Linked DNA regions of Homo sapiens: region 2 is linked to region 1. Evidence: promoter capture Hi-C in 16 types of primary human blood cells and fetal thymus (Javierre and others, 2016). All regions are on one chromosome and are shown on one strand. Each heading gives the region's core, a stretch centred on a gene start or on the middle of the fragment in contact. The rest is flanking DNA. Distances are from core to core; before and after follow the strand shown. Region 1 holds the start of WNT3A (Wnt family member 3A). Region 2 has its middle 76 kb from the start of LINC01641.

Region 1 (6,809 bases), core at 3,038-5,537:
CCCTGGGCCATGTCCCTGCCCTGCTCGACTGGCCCCTCTCAGTCCCCGAAACACCCATGCTGCAGCCACCTGCCCACACACCACACACGTATGCCTGACCCATCATTCCAGCCGAGCTCCTTCTCTCCTGCACCCTTTCCTGGCTCCTGCCTCTCTAAGCTGCCTCTTCACCCGACCCCTCTTCCAGTCAGGCTGTCTCCCCACCACAATGAGGCCCACCAGGACTGAGGACACAGGGGCGAAGTGCCTGGCGGTGGTGCAGTGCAGACACTGGCTGAGCAGGGCCTCCAAGTGTGCTGGCCCTCCAGCCCATGAAGGGCTAGGAGGAGGGGCTGAGCTCTTGTGCCCAGGAGGTTGTTTGCACCCATGAGTGTGTAGGAGAGTGGGGGCCTGAAAGGGCCTACATCTTCTGTTGAGGGCTGTGTGAGGTGCCCTATAAAAATGGAGGTCATGATGTGTTTCTGTCATAGTGACAAGCTCGAGGCCCAGAGGGATGTGAGGGAGACCCTGGAGGGAGCATGAGCGAGGCTGTGGAGCAGGCCAGGGGCAGGCAAAAGGCTGGACACAGCCCACACTGCACTTCGCTGGGACAACTGGGGTGGCCATCTGCAAGCAGCCAGGCCTCTGTGCTTGGGATCCCATAGTCCAGCAGGAGCTGGTGACGGCCGGGCAGAAGGAACGGCCTGAGAGGGAGAGCAGGGCTGGGTAAGGGGTGGAGCTTGCTGTGCTCCACTAGGCAGCGACGGTGGCTATGGCCAGGCCTGGCAGCAACTCCAGGTGGCTGGGAGGGTGTGGGTCCCAGGGGAGGGCCAGGACTGAGAACGGAAGCAGGAGGTGGCCGTGGCGGGAGTGCCACAGCCCAGTCTGGTAAAGGCAGCAGAGGGACTTGAAAGATGAACAAAATCCAGTTGCAAGCCCTGAAGTGGGCTTGGACCCTGGGGAGGCGGTGGCGGGAGGCACAGGCCCACCTCTAGGGTCCTGGTGGGGTCCCTGGGGAGATGACAAGATTCCGTTAACCCAGACATGGGAAGAAGGGAGAGGTGCTCAGAGTGCCCTGGAGTGCGGGTGTGCCTGGGGATTGTTCTCAGATGGAGCCATGGTCTCCTTGCAGCGCAGCTGCCCTGTCCTCTGTCCATGTGGGCTCTTCCAAGAATTCTTGTTCCTGAGAACTCAGCTTAGAAGGGGCGTGCTGGGAGGCTGGGGCCACTAGGTTCCTGCCGTCTGTGGCCTCATGGGACGCAGGTGGGCAGATGCATATGCATTGGTCTGGTCTCCTGCCTGTCTCCTCTCTGTCACTGGATGAGCTCAGAATGGATGCCCCTGGACATCTGTGCAGCTCTGGGCCATTCAGTGTTAGGCTAGGCCCGTCTCTCTGCATTTCAGACCCGCTCAGCCTTGGGACCACTGGCATCTGCTGCGTGGGTATAAGACACCTCTGGGCCACCCAGCCCTGGGGAGGCAGGTGGCCCTTCACACTCTCACAGGGCTGCTGGCCACAGGGACACCTTTGCCTCTCCCTCTGCCAACTTCAAAAGCCTAATTACCCTGATTTGGGCTGTTTCCTGGTTTGTTTCTCCAGGTGAGGAGATTCCCCTTCACTTTCACTTTCATGTGCCGGTGATGGTGGAGGGGGGAGAATCAAGGGGCCAGCGGCTTCATGTTAGGGAGGGGCTGGGGGCACAGGTGAGGAGTTACAGGGAGGCCCCCCACCCCAGCCTGCTCTGTTCCACTGGGGCTCACCAGGAGCCCACCTGGCAGGGGCCAAGGTCCCCTCCTCCCCTGGTGATGCTTAATCTGGGGTGGATGCGGGGAGGCAGGAGAAAGGAGGAGATGCTCTACTGGGTAGAAGACCAGAGAAAGAGAGAGAATCTTCCCCGGCTATTAAGGCTATTAAACTGTAGGATGCCAGCGGCAGGGGTCCAGCAGCAGGGGTCCTGCAGCACTGCGTCCTTCTGTGAGTCTTCTTCCCTATGCTGCCGGGGTGCTGCTCATGCCTGGGGGAAGCCATGTCTTTGCTCCAGCCCGAGCAGCCTGCCTGGGAGCAGAGAGGGGATCAAGAAGGGGGCAGACTTGTCCCCAGGGAGCCAGCCTCCCCCAAGGGGAGGCTGCTTCTCAGGAAGCAGAGAATCCCCAAGTGTGAGAACCCTACTGAGAACAAAGTGGTGGTGGGGATGGGGGAGGGGTCCTCACCACCCACCCCGGTCAGTGTCAGGTGGGGTTCTATGCCCCGCTTCCCTGTGTGGCCAAAGGGCTGTCCTGGACTCTTGATAGGAGGGTGCGGAGGGTACAGGGACTTCACTTCTCTGCTCCTCCTGGCTCCCCTGCAGAATGCCTGACTGTCCCCGAGGGTGTCTCAGGGTCCATTCAGGGTAGAACACAGGGGGCCCAGGTGAAAAGGAGGTATACATGCATATGAGGTGGATGGGGACCGAGGCTAGGAACCCTCAGGGCCGACAAGACAAAGATCCTAGGGCGCGGGGTTGCCAGGAGGCTGGCGACATTTATGGGAAGGGCGCGGGGCGAAGGAGCTTCCTTTTGCGCTCAGGAACGCGGCGGCGGGTTCTAATTAGAAGCCTGGTGCGTAAGCCGGCAGCCCTCGGGGCTCTCTCGGACGGACGCGCTGCCCCTGGCTCCCTGCGGCCGTCTGGACGCGCGTCAGTATCCCCGCACCCCAAGGCGAGCCCCGAGCCTGACCCTCAGGTGGGCCACTGGGCGCAGCAGGTGCCGCACGGGAAATGGGGCACGCGGAAATAGGGGCGCGCGGGGGTCCCCGAAGCGCGTCCCCGCGGCCTCGTGGCCTCTTCCAGGCCCTTCAGCTGCCTAGGGCTGCCCCTTCCCCTCCCCGCTGCTCCTGGCCCGGCGCCCCTACCGCGGGAGCCCCCGCTCCTGAACCATCTCGAAGAGAAAAATTATTATCGGATTAGATGTACCTCGGCTCGCTGGGTCTCCCCCCTTCCCCTCGGCGTAATTATTATAATTCCAGGCTGCCGTCGGAGAAGGATGGGGGGGAGTGTGCATGCTTGTGGGGAGGCTTCTCTCCAACTGTGGGTCCTACCAGCGCTGCGCCCGGCCCTGCGCGCCCACATTCCTCCCACTTGTGTTCCTCAATCTTGGGCATCTCAGAGCGCCCTTAATTCGGAACTGGGGTGATCCTTGCTTGGTGAGGGCTCTGAGGGATCACAAGCCCTGGCGAAAGTGTGGCCACCGTTCCCCCTCCCACAGGATATGTGCAGTGGAGGTGGGAGGCCTGAGAGAGACCTTTCGGGACCCTTCCTTTGGTTTATCTGCACTTCCATCGCCAGGCTGGGGAGGGTCTCACGGAACGCGCCTTTTCTGGTGTGGAGGGCGCAGCACAGCGCTTTCTGATTGAGGGTCCTGGAGCCCCTCACACCCCGTGCTTAACTCACCCTTAACTCTCTCTACAGCAGCCCCTCATTGCCAGGTGGACCCATGCGGAGGGCTCGCAGAGAGGGCCCCTGGAAACCCCCGTGCCCGGACTGCGGCGGGGAGGCGCGCGGGGCCCAGGGCCGGCCCCCAGTGCGCCCCGCCGCCGGCTCTGCGCCACTCCCCGCCGGGTCCCAGCTTTCTTTACGTAACCACGCTGCTCCGAGCTGTTCAGTCTTGTCTCATCGACTTTGTTTTAAAACGTGTGTGTGTGTTTGTGTGTAAGATACGGTTTTTGAGGAAAGTCTCCGGCGAATTCTCTCTCGCTGGCCCTCTTCCCTCGCCTGTCCCCTGGCCTCGAGCTGCCTGTCCCCTCGGTGACCGTGCGTGCCGACCTTCTTTCAGCCTCTCCCCAGCCCACTGCTCGCCCTGTCCGACGCCAGGGGCAGCTAGGACCTCCGCAACCTCCCCTACTCCCCCGCTCGGGAATCAATGTCTCCGGAAACTCCGCCACCCACGCGTCCCAGCGGCCTGAACAGGTCCAAAGTGGCCGTCAAGGAAAACCAACCGCCCGCGGCCCGCACGCGGGGCTGGAGCAGAAGGGCGCGGGCTCGGGCCACCGCGGGGTCCCTGCCCGAGGGGACCGTCTGCTGCGGGCGCGGCGCACAGGGGCAGGGGCGAACGCGAGGAGGCTCACTCACCACCAGATCGGGTAGCTGCCCAGAGCCTGCTTCAGGCTGCAGAGGAGTAAGAAGTATCCGAGTGGGGCCATCGCCGCGCGAGAGGGCGCGGAGGGCCGGGAGTCCGCCCCGAGAGCGTGAGCGCCGGGGGGGGCCGGGCCCTGGGAGCTGGCGCGGCGGCGTCGCTGGGCCCTCCTGCGGCCGCGGGTGCGCGGGTGTGCGCGGGCTCCGAGGGCGGCGCTGCGCCAGGTGGGCCGGCGGCCGGGCTGCGGGCCGAGGCCCGGGGCGGCGCGGGGCGGCGGGGGCGGGGCAGCGCCGCGGGGGGCGCCCGCCGGGGCCGGGGCCCGGGCGGGGCAGGCAGGGGCAGGCGGGGCCACGGGAGCCCGAACCGCGGCGGCGGCGTTGGCCCCCGCCTGCTGCCGTGGGTGTCGGTGTGTCTGAGGACGTGCTGGTGTGCGGGCCCCCAGGTGTGCGCGGCGCGCTGGGGTGCGCCAGATGGGCAGGCGGCCGGCCCGGGGCCGCGCGATCCGCAGGCGCCCTCCTGGAGCTCCCGGGCCGCGTCCTGGGTTTCCAGCCCCGCGCGCCCTGCGCTCACGGTGGGACCCGCAGTCCCCCTCTCGCTCCTGGTCTGTGGCGAGCTCCGTCTCTTGCCCCCGAGGTGGCTGGGCTAGGGCTCCCCTTCATCCATCAACCTTCTCGGGGCGGGGGTTTGGGGAGGGAGCGGACGGTTGTCGGGTGCACGTCCTTTGGCCCCGTCTGCCTGCGGCCGGACTCCTTCCGCTGAGACCAGAGCTGCCTGCGCCTTCGGCGGATAGAAAGGGTCCGGGATGGGTGCAGCCTGCAATGGGGACAGCGGCCAGGTGGACCTCCAAGGTGCAGCCACGCGTCTGTGGGTCACAGCTGGGGACGAGTGGGACTCTCTCTGTGGCGCAGGGATTGACCCCTCCATTTTTCTCCCCATCACTCCACCAGGGAAGAGAACAGTGGAAGCCCCTGACGCGATGGGACGGTGGGGAAGCGCAGTGCTGCCCCCAGGTTCTGGGACCACCAACCTCCAGGTCTGCCCAGAGCTATGCAGCCTGTTCCGACAGAGGGATTTCTGACTGTTTAGTTAAGCTTTAGGAGTTTGCTGATGGAGAGGGGAAGACCTGAGAGGGAAAGTGACTTGCCCAAGGTCACCCAGTGACCAGTCAACTCTCCAGCTCCCAGTCATTTGCATATCCATGTGTTGCCCCGGGAGCCGCCTGGGGAGATTGTAATTTGCAGAGGGGAAGTGTCCCCAGCCTCCCCCGGGGGACCTGATAACTGGGATGGTTAAGAGGCACTCTCCCATCGCGGCTGGTCCTCCTGCAGTCACACTGTGACCTAAGCTCAGCAGGAATCTTGGTTACCGCGTTGGAATTGAGGAAGGAGGCTCCGGGAGCTTCTGAGAGCTCCAAGCAACTCCAGACTCATCCGTGGTGTGTTCTCTGGGGATACTGCACTGCCCAGCCTGTGGGCTAGGCCTCCTGTGCGGCTGCAGAGTTGCGGGAGGGAGGTGCATGGAGAGGCAGGGATGGGCATGTGGCCGCTTCTGTGCAGCTTCTCAGGGAGGGGGTGGCTGAGATGTCCCCAGGTGTGTCACTGGCTGGCTGATGGAGGCAGCTGCTTCCCACAGTGTGCCCCACTCACAACTTGGTTCTGCGTTTGCAGAGGGAGCCTGTGGTCCTGTGGACACCGGCCCTAGGGGTCACCTGGTGACTATGTCAGGAGTCCTGAATTCAGAGTGACAGCCTTTCTCTTTGAAAAAAAGTTCCCTTTGCTCCTCACTACCTTGGGAATCCAGTTTCCGCTACGCATGCCCGGCCGCCCACCCGCTTCTCCCAGGCACTGCGGGGCCCCCACCCTCAGAGGGAAAGAGGGAAGAGCTCTGGAATGAAGCGGCGGTGGGGTCAGGGAGGGGGAGGGGAGGAGCGTGTTTGTGCTCCTCTGGACTTGGCCTTGCAGCAAAAATCCCACCCAATTGTGGTACTGGGGAAAACCTGGGCTGCAGGTGGGGTGGGCGCCTGAGCCCAGCCTGAGGCACGCAGACTCTTGTTACCCCCACCTCCCCAGAAATGAGGCTCGGGGATTAGAGCCCCCTAGAGGATGCCAGCTCTGCCCACCGACAGGATGGGCCTCGTGACCTCACTGAAGGGGGCAGGTGAGCGCAGCCTGCTCAGTCCTGCCCTCTTGCCCCTTGGTTTCCCAAGCCCCTCCTCCTGGCTGCTTTCTTCTCCCCCATCAGGCCCCATCCTCTGCCCGTGCCACCTGGGTAGTACACACACTGAGATCCGGCCGCTTCCCAGGCTGCAGAAGATGAAGGGAGGAGCAGACTCCGAGGCCCCAGGCAGGAGCTCAGCCTGCCCAGGCCAGGCTCTCAAGCGAGGGCTCCTGTTTCTGAAGACTCTGGATACCAGGGAGCCAGGGTAGGCTGCATGGAGGAACGAGCGGAGGCTTCTGGAACTAGCTCCTCGGTACCTGCCTGTACCACGTGGGGCTCCTCCTTCCCTCTGTGAGCCTCCGAGAGCCTCGGCTCCTGAGCAGCCAAGTCAGTGGGGCTGGGCTGGGGTGGGGTGGAGAGCAGAGTGGGAGAGCAAGGGTGGGACCCCAGCTGGGTGTCAGGGGCCTGAGGGGCTTCTCCTGAGTGTCTTCCAGGCTCGGGTGATGTTGCCTACAGCACCTCTTGTCCCTTGCTTGGGGTGCAGAGGAAGGTGAGGGGCCTCC
Region 2 (6,576 bases), core at 3,786-6,285, 540 kb after region 1:
ACCTCAGTGCCTGTAATGTCCGTGCTCCTTCCCTTCCTCACTTTTGTCAGGTCACTTTTCAAATGTTACTTCTCTAGAGAGGCTCCTTCTCATTCGATCTAAAATTAAGAACTCCTCCAATCACTCTGTTTCCTTTTATCCCAATTTCTTTTCTTGCTATTTGCCACTACCTGAAAAAAAAAAATGTCTTCTTCATTAGGCCATAAGCTCATAAAGGCAAAAACTGTGTTCAACCTGTCCTCTCTACTCCAGCACTTAGAAGAGTGGCAGAGTCAGCATTCAGTGTTTACAGAGTGAACAACTTCCTGGCAGCATTTAGCACTGTATCACAGCCTCTATTATCTTGAATTCTTTGTTCTTTTAGTAACCTATCCTGCTTTTCCTCCTCCAATTCTACCTACATATCTGAGGGCTTGTTCCTTACATCCTGATAGTCCTTACAGGCCTATCTTCTATTCACTTTCTCTCTCTTTTTTTTTTTTAAGAGATGGGGTCTCACCATGTTGCACAGGCCACACAAAAATTCCTGGGCTCAAGCAATCCTCCCACCTCAGCCTCCCAAGCAGCTGGGACTAGAGACATTTGCTACCATGCCCAGCATGTCCACTTTCACTCTACACACTTTCTCCACATTTAAGTAGCTACTCATACTGCTCATTCATTACCTCTAGCTCACATTCAGGTTCCAGTCCGGTATATCCACATGATGACTGAACACTACCACTCTGCTATCTCACAGGGACATTAAACCTAATTCATCTACAATGAACTCCTTCTCTTCTGATCCAGCTTTCCCTCCAGCATCACCTATCTCTCTACATCTGGAAACACCATTCCTGTTTTCCTCCATCATGTGCTAAGCTTTCTGAATGGCTTGAAGCTTCATGAAAAGGCCTGTGTCTTATCCAGTGCCCATAGACAGGTTTCTTTTCAAGTGCACAGCAAAAGTGTTCTCTCCTAAACTCTAGCTGGTTGCTAACAAATCATGTATTGACCTAAGTGTTCTTCTCCTCCAGCCCAAGCAGTTGATCTTTTTCTATAGGCTTGCTGTTGAAAGGAATAAAACCCAACTGTATTAGTCTGTTCTCACACTGCTATAAAGAACCACAGAACCACTTGAGACTGGGTAATTTATGAAGAAAAGAGGTTTAATTGACTCACAGTTCTGTATGCTGTACAGGAATCATGGCTGGGAGGCCTCAGGAAACTTACGATCATGGCAGAAGGTGAAGGGGAAGCAAGCACGTCTTAACATGGTGAAGCAGGAGGGAGAGAGTAAAGGGGGAAGTGCTACACACGTTTAAATAACTAGATTTCATGAGAACTCATTCAATATCATGAGAACAACAAGGAAGAAATGTCCCTATGATCCAATCACCTCCTACCAGATCCCTCCCCCAACATTAGGAATTACAATTTGACATGAGATTTAGATGGTGACACAGAGCCAAACTATATCATCCTACCCTGGACCCTCCCAAATCTCATGTCTTTCTAACATTGCAAAACACAGTCATGCTATCCCAGCGGTCCCCCAAAGTTTTAACTAATTTCAGCATTAACTCAAAAGTCCACCTCCAACATCTCATCTGAGACAAGGCAAATCCCTTTTACCTATGAGCCTGCAAATAAACAGTTACAAGATATAATGGGGGTAGAGTCACTGGATGAATAAACCCATTCCGAATGGGAGACATTGGCCAAAATGAAGGGGCTACAGGCCCCATACAAGTCTAAAATGCAGCAGGGCAGCCATTAAGTCTCAAAGCTCTGAAATAATCTCCTTTGACTCCATAGCTCACATCCAGGCCATATTGATGCAAGGGGTGGGCTCCCATGGCCTTGGGAAGCTCTGACCCTATGGCTCTGCAGAGTAGAGCCACCATAGCTGTTTTCACAGTCTGGCATTCAGTGCCTGAAGCTTTCCAGGTACACAGTGCAAGCTGTCAATGGATCTACTATTCTGGGGTCTGGAGGATGGTGGCCCTCTTCTCACGGCTCCACTAGGCAGTGCCCCAATGGGGACTTTGTACAGGGGCTTCAACACCACATTTCCCCTCTGAACTGTACTAGTAGAGGTTCTCCACAAGGGCTCCACCCCTGCAGCAGAATTCTACCTCAACATCCAGGCATTTTCATACATCCTGTGAAATCTAGGCAGAGACTCAAAAACCTCAGCTCTTGCCTTATGCACACCTGCAGGCCCAACACTACATGAAAAACACCAAGGCTTGGGTCTTGCACCCTCAGAAGCAATGGTCTGAGCTGTACCTTGGCCCCTTTTAGCTATGGCTGGAGCTGGAGCAGCATGGACAGAGGGTGCCATGTCCTGAGGCTGCAGAGAGCTGCAAGACCCTGAGCCTGGCCCATGAAATTATTCTTCCCTCCTAGGCCTCCAGGCCTGTGATGTGGGGGGGGCTACCACAAAGGTCTCTGAAATGTCCTGGAGGCATTTTCCCCATTGTCTTTGCTATTAACATTCAGTTAATCTTTACTTACGCAAATTTCTGCAGCCTTGAATTCCTCTCCAGAAAACGGGTTTTCTTTTCTACCACATGGGTAAGCTGCAAATGTTCCAAACTTTTCCACTCTTCTTCTCTTTTAAATGTAAGTTCTAGTTTCAGGTAATTTCTTTGTTTATGAAAATGAATGTAAGCTTTTAGAAGCAGCCAGGCCATATCTTGAATGCTTTGCTTCTTAGAAATTTCTTCCACCAGATACCCTAAATCATCTCTCTCAAGTTCAAAGTTCCACAGATCTCTGTAACAGGGGCACAAAGCCACCAGTCTTTTTGCTAAAGCACAGTAAGAGTGACCTTTACTCCAGTTCCCAATAAGTTCCTCATCTCCATCTGAGACCAGCTCAGCTTGGACTTCACTGTCCATATCACTATCAGTATTGTGGTCAAAACCATTCAACAAGTCTCTATGAAGTTCTAAACCTTCCCTCATCTTTCTATCTTCTTCTGAGCCCTCCAAACTGTTCCAACCTCTGTTTGTTACCCAGTTCCAAAGCTGCTGCCACATTTTCAAGTATCTTTCCAGCAATGCCCCCCTTCTCTGTATTAGTTCTTTCTCACACTGCTATAAAGAACTACCTGAGACTGGGTAATTTATAAAGAAAAGAAGTTTAATTGACCCACAGTTCCACAGGCTGTACAGGAAGCATGGCTCAGTGGCCTCAGGAAACTTACAATTATGGTGGAAAGTGAAGGGAAAGCAAGCATGTCTTGCAGTGGTGAAGCAGGAGAGAGAGAACAAAGGGGGGAAGTGTTGCACACTTTCAAAGCATCAGATATAATAAGAACTCACTATTGTGAGAACAGCAAAGGGGGAATACGCCCCCATGATCCAATCACCTCCCACGAGATCCCTCCCCCAACACTGGGAATTATGCAATCCAACGTGAGATTTGGCTGGGGACACACAGCCAAACCATATAACTGTTTAAATAAAGGCAAGGTAGTAGAAAATGTCTGTGGGACTATCTGAAAAAAGGTTCTTAGGAATATCTCTGTGAAGTGGCTTGGAGAAATCACATTATTCTGAAATGATTCAGAAGAACAAAGTACACTATTTACGTCTGATTTTTTTCTAAGTAACCAAAATAATTCCATTCTTCATTGTAGTAAAACTAAAATGTTTTACATCTAAGTAGGAATTTCTCAGTTTCCAAGTAAACTGATATAAAATTGTCCAAACTAAAGATATTAACAGCAAATTGTTAATGTCCTGCCTCAGTTTCTATGGAAACTTAGGAATTGTAGGCAAATGCTGAAATTGAGGTTTCGCTTATCACTTTATTGAATGCCAGAAAAATAAATTTCAAGAGGCAAATTGAAATGAAAATTTAAGTGTCATGCAAATAAACATAAAATGTTAAATTCTGTGCTCACAAACTATTTTTTTAACTTTTCTGATTTAACACTCCTTATTATTGTTCTATGCTTAAGGCATGATACCTTACCTCTCCTGTCTCCAGCTTCTCTTGTCCAGGAAATTCTCAGCTTCAATTTACAGTGACAAGAGAAAACTCTTTAAAAATTATTAACCTGCTTGATTGGTAAATTTGGGTAATTTTATTACCTCTACTTTTATCCGTATCTGTTGAAATTAATGTATAGACATAAGATGGAGCCAGGCAAGATGGAATATATCAGTAATTCCAGCTACTCAGGAGGCTGAGGCAGGAGGATCACTTGAGCCCTGGCCAGAAGACTGAGGCCAGTATGGGCAACACAGTTAAGACCCCTTTCCCTTTAGAAAAAAAAATGGACAGGTAAATGTTGCCTCTGAGTTGTATAAAATAAGCTTTTAATTGAACTAATCAAGGTGGAGTAAGTTCTAAGAGATAAGTTTACTTTATAGGTAAAACATACAATGTATTCCACAGTTTTAAAGTTTAGGAACTGAATTAGGCATCGCTACCATCTCCATGTCAGTTTCAGGGTACTTACTATAGAACCTTAGTTCTGTTCAGTAGCTGTCTTACATAGTCATTTCAGATCTCAAAGTCTTTGTTTTTTCATCATCAATACAGGGAGAATATACACAGGCCTTATTTGTGTTTGGAAGGGCCAAATAAGATGTACATTAAAATGTGTTGTACATACTAAAAAAAGACATGAAGAGCCTATTTTGGGATCTCATCCAGCACTACCCATCTACCAACTGGTGTGTAAAGTCACTGAGGTTTACCTTACACCACCAAACAGAGCATAAATATTCACAAGTACTTCCATACTTTGTGCATAAAGTTACAATCTATTAACACAATCTATTCGTTCTTTCACTATTATTGAATATTCTGAAAATTGAATATGGTACTTTCCAGTTATAAAGGCACATACATCATGAGCTTTAATTCTTCTTCTTCTTTTTTTTTTTTTTTTTTGAGACGGAGTTTTGCTCTTGTTGCCCAGTTTGGAGTGCAGTGGCGCGATCTCGGCTCACTACAACCTCCACCTCCCAGGTTCAAGTGATTCTCCTGCCTCAGTCTCCTGAGTAGCTGAGATTACAGGCATGCACCACCATGACCAGATAATTTTTTGTATTTTTACTAGTGATGGGGTTTCCTCATGTTGGCCAGGCTGGTCTCAAACTCCTGACCTCAGCTGATCCACCTGCTTTGGCCTCCCAAAGTGCAGTGATTACAGGCGTAAGCCACCATGCTAGGCCTAAGTTTTCTAACTTTTAAAGAAATTAAGAGCCCAATCAAAGTTTAAACAGAAGAGCTATAAGACATTTTCTCTATACTAATGAAATATCTGGCATTTATTAAAACAAATGAGACAACCAGATTTAACTATCTTTATGATACAATGTTTTCTATTTCAAAGAACTTAGTTTTTATTCAAGAACCATATTATTCAAAACCATTTCTACTTAAATTCGTTCTTTTTCTGATGGTAAAATATTAAAAATTTTCTTTCATCTCCCCCCTTTCCATCCCTATCAGAGATTAGAGTTTGAACTCTAACACTCTCATCTTTGAACATAATTCTGTTGACATGAGGAGGGAGCTATGGAAACAAACACTTGAACAGGCAGCATCTGGCATTTTAAACTCCCAAACCTTTACATCACAAATGTAACTCTGAATTTATGTTCCAGCTCTTGAAATTTTTTTACTATGAACCACCCCTCCACTTTTAGAACAAGGAGGAAAATGAAGTCCAGTAAGTCACCAGAGTAGATCTGAAGATATATTTGGGTTAAAGAGGAAATCTTAAAGCAATCAAAACACTGTGGGTAAGCTTTGGGTTTAAAAAACCATCAACTATTCTGCAGCCCTGGCAGTAACATTTTACACCATTCATAATCATTTTAAGCACTTCTCCAATTTTCTTCCCTTCAGTGTTCAAATTATAGTTGGAGGAATAAAGCCATTTCTATCGAGGTGACTTAAAACAACTTATTAAAAACTCCATACGCCAACCTCTATTCTGAATTTAAGCAAGAAATCCCTAAACATTGGGTCTAAATTTTCCCAAGTATCAGCTACCTTAACACATAAGAGAAAGGGAACAATCAGACTCTTACCTGGCTCCTTCATTTAGGTACCATCTAGATAGATAAGGAGAATGGGATGGGTACTCAGAAGTTGGAGTATTTGAGTTCTCATTAAGAAAAGGCAAAGAAGATATGAAGAAAGCTTCGAAAAAGTCTCATAGAATGATAAATTGTAGGGCTCAGACTGATGTCCTTTGGCAGACCAGCTTGGAGCTGGCATTGGGGGACACACAAGTCAGCATGCTTTCCATGGAGTGGTTCTGCTCCTCTTCACCACCATGTCAACCTTTGCTTGCTGCTGCCTGCTCACAGATCTCAGACCTGAAGTAGGACCCCGCTGTCCCCCTGATCCAGCCCAGTTTGGTGCTAGCATTGGGTGACACACAATAGGTCGGCATGGTCCCCATGGTGCACTTCTGCTCTTCTCTACTGCCATATGTTCCTTTGCTCACTGCTGCCTGCTTGCAGATCTCAGACCTGTGGGTAGGGCTCCACTGATCTCCTGTGCCAGACCAGCTTCCACTCTTCTCTGCCACTGCCTGCATTTTTGCTTGCTGCCACCTGC

What was found. The method cuts DNA at HindIII sites, captures the fragments that hold promoters and counts their contacts. A CHiCAGO score of 5 or more calls a contact.
Region 2: a contact is called between a fragment that was not itself captured here and the fragment with the promoter of WNT3A in region 1, in 2 of 17 cell types (M2 macrophages and total CD8 T cells). The highest score is 5.2, in M2 macrophages.

What each region holds. Positions count from the first base shown.
Region 1 is chr1:228,004,476-228,011,284 of GRCh38, reverse strand. WNT3A (Wnt family member 3A) reads right to left here and starts at 4,287. Exons shown (of 4, transcript NM_033131.4): 1 at 4,086-4,287. The coding sequence starts at 4,156. RefSeq lists an enhancer at 6,724-6,773. The HindIII fragment of the contact is 11,751 bases long and covers 1-5,182 here.
Region 2 is chr1:227,466,685-227,473,260 of GRCh38, reverse strand. No RefSeq gene overlaps it. Among named protein-coding and RNA genes, the nearest start is that of LINC01641, 76 kb to the right of the region's middle. The HindIII fragment of the contact is 1,445 bases long and covers 4,313-5,757 here.